Regions from separate parts of the Homo sapiens genome. Here region 2 is linked to region 1. Evidence: promoter capture Hi-C in human tissues and cell types (Jung and others, 2019). All regions are on one chromosome and are shown on one strand. Each heading gives the region's core, a stretch centred on a gene start or on the middle of the fragment in contact. The rest is flanking DNA. Distances are from core to core; before and after follow the strand shown. Region 1 holds the start of GBP1 (guanylate binding protein 1). Region 2 has its middle 26 kb from the start of GBP5.

Region 1 (3,448 bases), core at 299-2,798:
GGAGCTACAGTGTTAAGGAAGGATGATAGAAAGAGTTTAGATAAAATTATTTTACAAAGTATGAATGAGAAAAGACACTGTATCTGCAATTTATATACATCTAATATATAATTTTAATGTGTAAGTGAGAAATGCTTGGCCAGGCCTGGTGGCTCACACTTGTAATCCCAGCACTTTGGGAGGCCAAGGTGGGTGGATCATCTGAGGTCGGGAGTTCGAGACCAGCCTGACCACCATGGAGAAACCCCATCTCTACTAAAAATACAAAATTAGCCAGGATAGTGGTACATGCCTGTAGTCCCAGCTACTTGGGAGGCTGAGGCAGGAGAATTGATTGAACCCAGGAGGCGGAGGTTGCAGTGAGCCGAGATCGTGCCACTGCACTCCAGCCTGGGCAACAAGAGTGAAACTCCATCTCAAAAAAAAAAAAAAAAAAAAAGAAAAAGAAAAAGAAAAAAAAAGAAATGCTCACACAAGGTTGGGTCTGGTGGCTCATGCCTATAATCCCAGCAATTTGGGAGGCCGAGGCAGGGGGATCATTTGAAGGAAGGAGTTCAAGACCAACCTAAGCAACAAAGTGAAACCACATCACTATAAATATATTTTTAAATGAAATGTTCACTCAGGCTTTTTACTATTTTATTTGCTTTTGCTGTAAAATAGAGATAATGCCACTTATTCTGTATGCTAGAAGTCATTACTGAATTAGACATAAAACACAAACAGCTCTTAGAAAACAATCTATAAAAATAAAATCACACTATAATAAATTTAAAAATAAAAAACCTATAAATAAAATATTTCTACAATTTTTCACTTAGTAAATAAGCAGCATAGTGAAGTGGTTCAAGAAGAGGGTATGGGATCATGAGTGCTTGGGTTCAGATTAGTTACAGTGTTATGATTTTAGACAACTAATAAAGTCTTTCTGTGCTCAGTTTCTATAAAACCATGAGGAAATATTATGAGTTTTCAGTTGTGCGATTCATGTAAAGCCATCAGTACTGAGCCTAGAACATGAGTACAACACATGGAGCCCCCTCCTGGCTGTGTGCTGGGCATTAAGTGCCAGGGGTTAGGTGTTCATGAGTGTGTTAAACATGTCCTTTCCTTATGTACTGCACCTCTCAAAGAATAGGCAGCTCCATTGAGAGTGTGTCTATTATTTTAGGAAATTGTAGCTGAAAATTAACATGATGCCTCCTCATTCTAGGTTTCTCAAATTGACTCAATCCATGAGACATGTATCATTGTATTCAAAACCTAATGGGCATTTTGTTAGACAACAAATGGTCTCTAAGATTTCCAACAACAACAAAAAAAATTTGAAGCTTCTGGTTGAGAAATCTTTAAACCCTCCCACTGGCACACTCCACTAATTCCATTTATGGTAGTGGAGTCAGTGATTTGAACGAAGTACTTTCAGTTTCATATTACTCTAAATCCATTACAAATCTGCTTAGCTTCTAAATATTTCATCAATGAGGAAATCCCAGCCCTACAACTTCGGAACAGTGAAATATTAGTCCAGGGATCCAGTGAGAGACACAGAAGTGCTAGAAGCCAGTGCTCGTGAACTAAGGAGAAAAAGAACAGGTAAGAACTTTTACTACTTCTCATCAAGCAGCTTTCTCTCTAGCTCCAAAGGATCTCAGCTCAGTGATATGGAACCTATAAGGTTGTGGCAGGGATGGGAAGGAATTTATAAAGGTCAGTTCATTTTCTTAAACATCATCAGAACCAAATTAGGCTGCAGATGAGCCTGAAGTGGGACGCAGGTCAGATGAAATCCTGGTGTTATCAGGGACAGCATGGCCTTAAGTGCCACTACAGTGCTTGTGTTGAATTAGGCACCAGTAGACAGGGGCTAAACTGAGCATTTGAAATGTACTAGGATAGTCTTTCTCTTTGTTGACATTATCTATGTTGACTAGGGATATGATTACATTTCCATCGTCAGTGATGGACTGAATCCTGCTTCTATGCAGCTAAGAAATGGAAGAGTTACAAACGGGTTCTTTTCATGGAAGGAAAGAACAGCAAATGAGAAGCAGAGTAAGCAGCCCACTGACACGGTTAAAGACAAAGAAAAAACTGAAACTCAGCCTGAAAGATGAAGATTCATGAAAACAGTATACTTTTTATTACACTTGTGAACTTTGTTTCAGAATGGATTACTTTCTTTAGAAATAGTCCAGACTCACTAATTTCCTAGTGCCCACTGATCCCTGTCCCTTAGAAGTGAAATTCAACCCCACTGCTTCACTGAAGTGCTTCCAATTTTGTCTTCTTTTAGTAGAGAGCAGGGCCAAAAGTGTTTCCTCTTTAATTCTCCTGTAATGCATCTCTACAGAAAATATCTTTGCTTACTTTAACCTCTCCATGCACTCAGACTACTTTGATCCTGCCTTCTGCAAAGTCTTCCCCTGAATGCCTTGTCAAGACACTAGCCTCATTCATCACCTCTGGTCTGACAGCTCCTCTCTCTCTCTCTCTCTCTCTCTCTCTCTCTCTCACACACACACACACACACACACACACACACACACACACACATTCCCAGCCCCTTATCCTCCTCTCCACTCCTACTATTCCTCCTCTTTCTATTTCTCTTTCTCCTACCCTACCAAATGGAAAACAGAACAAAACAGAAATCCTAAAGCTGTATCGCTGGAAATATATTTTATTTGAACAACTTCCTAGGTAGCTCTCTTTATCTGCCTCTTGATCTTTTAATCCTTATTATCTGGAGGAAACATTCAGTATTTGCAATTTTGCATTCATACCCTCAGTGACTTAGAAGCTATCTTATCGTGACTCTAATGAAGCTTAAGTTTCAGGGCCCTTCTCTTGGACATGACCCTTAGGAGCCCTTGGAAGGTTCCCTAGCCATGTGTTTCACATGGTTGTATAGTTTTATAAAATTTGCAAAAGTATGTTACATTGTTACCACTTCCAGAATGGCAATGTGAGAAGCTTTGTCAATCCTCATTGCAGTGAAATAAGCATAATCATTTGAAGATGGAGGAAGGAACACATTTAAAAATCTTTGGAAATTTTTCTAAGGGTAAACATCAAACTATGAATACTGATTCACTGTGTTGGATGTTTATTCACTGTGAGAATTAATAAGTGAATCAATATTGAATTCCTTACATACAGCCAGGATGCAAATAAATCCTCTAAATCCTATTCTATCTTCCATTAATTGACTAGTGAAAATATCTAATAAGAATCCAAAAAGAAAGTTTTCCACAATAAACTAAATGAAATATTTGGGTCGTGAGAGTAGTTGAGTGTTGATAAGTCACTGTCATGCTAACATTTTTCATAATGAGCTACTTTGACAATACTTCCATAACTTTCTCAAATGATACAGATTTTGCCTCATCTCTTTTGCTGTCACACACAAAACTTTTGGCCATACTGGGGAATCTTATGATTCTCC
Region 2 (3,448 bases), core at 546-3,045, 180 kb before region 1:
TCTGGGAGTTAGGGCCTGGAAAAGGGTCCTCACAACTCTACTCAATGTCCTATTCTGCTATGGCTGAGTTGGTATCTGGGATGCAAGACAAAGTCCTCCCTATTTTTTCCTCTCCTCTTTTTAACTGGAAGGAAGGGGTCCCTTTTGTTGCCATGAGCTGTGTGCAGACTAGGGTTAGGGAAGGGGTGATGCCAGAACTCCTTTAGCCACCTTAGCTGGTATCTCAGTAGGTCACATGCCCCACAAGTCTACTGGCTCTGGGTCCAGTTCAGCACTAAAATGCAGGGAAGTCCTGGCAGGATTCAGTAAACTATTCAAGAGTTGAAAGATAAAATAGCCGTTTTCAAAGAGAACAAAATTGATCTCAGAGAACTGAAAACTCACTACAAAAATTTCATAATACACCTTGAATTAACTTTTCTATAAGGTGTAAGGAAGGGATCCAGTTTCAGCTTTCTACATATGGCTAGCCAGTTTCCCCAGCACCATTTATTAAATAGGGAATCCTTTCCCCATTTCTTGTTTTTGTCAGGTTTGTCAAAGATCAGATGGTTGTAGATGTGTGGTGTTATTTCTGAGGGCTCTGTTATGTTCCATTGGTCTATATCTCTGTTTTGATACCAGTACCATGCTGTTTTGGTTACTGTAGCCTTGTAGTAAAGTTTGAAGTCAGGTAGCATGATGCCTTCAGCTTTGTTCTTTTTGTTTAGGATTGTCTTGGCAATGCGGTCTCCTTTTGGTTCCACATGAACTTTAAAGTAGTTTTTTTCCAATTCTGTGAAGAAAGTCATTGGTAGCTTGATGGGGATGGCATTGAATCTATAAATTACCTTGGGCAATATGGCCATTTTCATGATATTGATTCTTCCTATCCATGAGCATGGAATGTTCTTCCATTTGTTTGTGTCCTCTTTTATTTCATTGAGCAGTGGTTTGTAGTTTTCCTTGAAGATGTCCTTCACATCCTTTGTAAGTTGGATTCCTAGGTATTTTATTCTTTGTAGCAGTTGTGAATGGGAGTTCACTCATGATTTGGCTTTCTGCTTGTCTGTTCTTGGTGTATAGGAATGCTTGTGATTTTTGCAATTGATTTTGTATCCTGAGATTTGGCTGAAGTTGCTTATCAGCTTAAGGAGATTTTGGGCTGAGACGATGGGGTTTTCTAAATATACAATCATGTCATCTGCAAATAGGGACAATTTTACTTCCTCTTTTCCTAATTGAATACCCTTTATTTCTTTCTCTTCCCTGATTGCCCCTGCCAGAACTTCCAACACTATGTTGAATAAGAGTGATGAGCGTGGGCATCCTTGTATTGTGCTGGTTTTCAAAGGGAATGCTTCCAGTTTTTGCCCATTCAGTATGATATTGGCTGTGGGACTGTCATAAATAGCTCTTATTTTTTTGAGATACGTTCCATCAGTACCTAGTTTACTGAGGTTTTTAGCATGAAGTGCTGTTGAATTTTGTCAAAAGCCTTTTCGGCATCTATTGAGATAATCATGTGGTTTTTGTCGTTGGTTTTGTTTATGTGATGGATTGTGTTTATTGATTTGTGTATGTTGAACCAGCCTTGCATCCCAGGGATGAAGCCGACTCGATTGTGGTGGATAAGCTTTTGGATGTACTGCTGGATTCAGTTTGCCAGTATTTTATTGAGGATTTTTGCATCGATGTTCATCAGGGATACTGGTCTAAAACTTTCTTTTTTTGTTGTGTCTCTGTCAGGCTTTGGTATCAGGATGATGCTGGCTTCATAAAATGAGTTAGGGAGGATTCCCTCTTTTTCTATTGATTGGAATAGTTTCAGAAGGAATGGTGCCAGCTCCTCTTTGTACCTCTGGTAGAATTTGGCTGTGCATCTGTCTGGTCCTGGACTTTTTGGTTGGTAGGCTGTTAATTATTGCCTCAATTTCAGAGCCTGTTATTGGTCTATTCAGAGATTCAACTTCTTCCTGGTTTAGTCTTGGGAGGGTGTATGTGTCAAGGAATTTATTCATTTCTTCTAGATTTTCTAGTTTATTTGTGTAGAGGTGTTTATAGTATTCTCTGATGGTAGTTTGTATTTCTGTGGGATCTGTGGTGATATCCCCTTTATTATTTTTTATTGCATCTATTTGATTCTTCTCTCTTTTCTTCTTTATTAGTCTTGCTAGGGGTCTATCAATTTTGTTGATCTTTTCAAAAAACCAGCTCCTGGATTCATTGATTTTTTGAAGGGTTTTTTGTGTCTCTATTTCCTTCATTTCTGCTCTGATCTTAGTTATTTCTGCTCTGATCTTAGTTATTTCTTGCCTTCTACTAGCTTTTGAATTTGTTTGCTCTTGCTTCTCTAGTTCTTTTAATTGTGTTGTTAGGGTGTCGATTTTAGATCTTTCTTGCTTTCTCTTGTGGGCATTTAGTGCTAAAATTTCCCTCTACACACTGCTTTGAATGTGTCCCAGAGATTCTGGTCTGTTGTGTCTTTGTTCTCCTTGGTTTCAAAGAGCATCTTTATTTCTGCCTTCATTTTGTTATTTACCCTGTAGTCATTCAGGAGCAGATTGTTCAGTTTCCATGTAGTTGTGCAGTTTTGAGTGAGTTTCTTAATCCTGAGTTCTAATTTGATTGCACTGTGGTCTGAGAGATAGTTTGTTGTGATTTCTGTTCTTTTATATTTGCTGAGGAGTGCTTTACTTCCAATTATGTCGTCAATTCTAGAACAAGTGTGATGTGGTGCTGAGAAGAATGTATATTCTGTTGATTTGGGGTGGAGAGTTCCGTACATGTCTATTAGCTCCACTTGGTGCAGAGCTGAGTTCAAGTCCTGGATATCCTTGTTAACCTTCTGTCTCATTGATCTGTTTAATATTCACAGTGGGGTGTTAAAGTCTTCCATTATTATTGTGTGGGAGTCTAAGTCTCTTTGTAGATCTCTAAGGACTTGCTTTATGAATCTGGGTGCTCCTGTATTGGGTGCATGTATATTTAGGATAGTTAACTTTTCTTGTTGAATTGATCCCTTTACCATTATGTAATGGCCTTCTTTGTCTCTTTTGATCTTTGTCGGTTTAAAGTCTGTTTTATCAGAGACTAGAATTGCAACCCCTGCTTTTTTTTCCTTTCCATTTGCTTGGTAGATCTTCCTCCATCCCTTTATTTTGAGCCTATGTGTGTCTCTGCACGTGAGATGGATGTCCTGATTACAGCACACTGATGGGTCTTCACTCTTTATCCAATTTGCCAGTCTGTGTGTTTTAATTGGGGCATTTAACCAATTTACATTTAAGGTTAATATTGTTATGTGTGAATTTGATCCTGTCATTATGATGTTAGCTGGTTACTTTGCCCATTAATTGATGCAGTTTCTGCATAGCATCTATGGTCTTTACCATTTGGCATGTTTTTGCAGTGGCTGGTACCAGTTGTTCCTTTCCATGTTTAGTGCTTCCTTCAGGAGCTCCTGTAA

What was found. The method cuts DNA at HindIII sites, captures the fragments that hold promoters and counts their contacts. A contact is called where the count stands out against the background at its distance.
Region 2: a fragment that was not itself captured here is called in contact with the fragment with the promoter of GBP1 in region 1 in 1 of the 25 tissues and cell types used here (H1 embryonic stem cells).

Annotation. Positions count from the first base shown.
Region 1 is chr1:89,063,308-89,066,755 of GRCh38, reverse strand. It overlaps GBP1 (guanylate binding protein 1), which reads left to right and starts at 1,548. Exons shown (of 11, transcript NM_002053.3): 1 at 1,548-1,596. The region is part of intron 2 of LOC105378841 (a long non-coding RNA gene); the gene reads right to left. RefSeq lists an enhancer at 1,252-1,351. The HindIII fragment of the contact is 6,241 bases long and covers 1-3,448 here.
Region 2 is chr1:89,245,108-89,248,555 of GRCh38, reverse strand. It overlaps the pseudogene LOC100421401. Among named protein-coding and RNA genes, the nearest start is that of GBP5, 26 kb to the left of the region's middle. The HindIII fragment of the contact is 3,645 bases long and covers 1-3,448 here.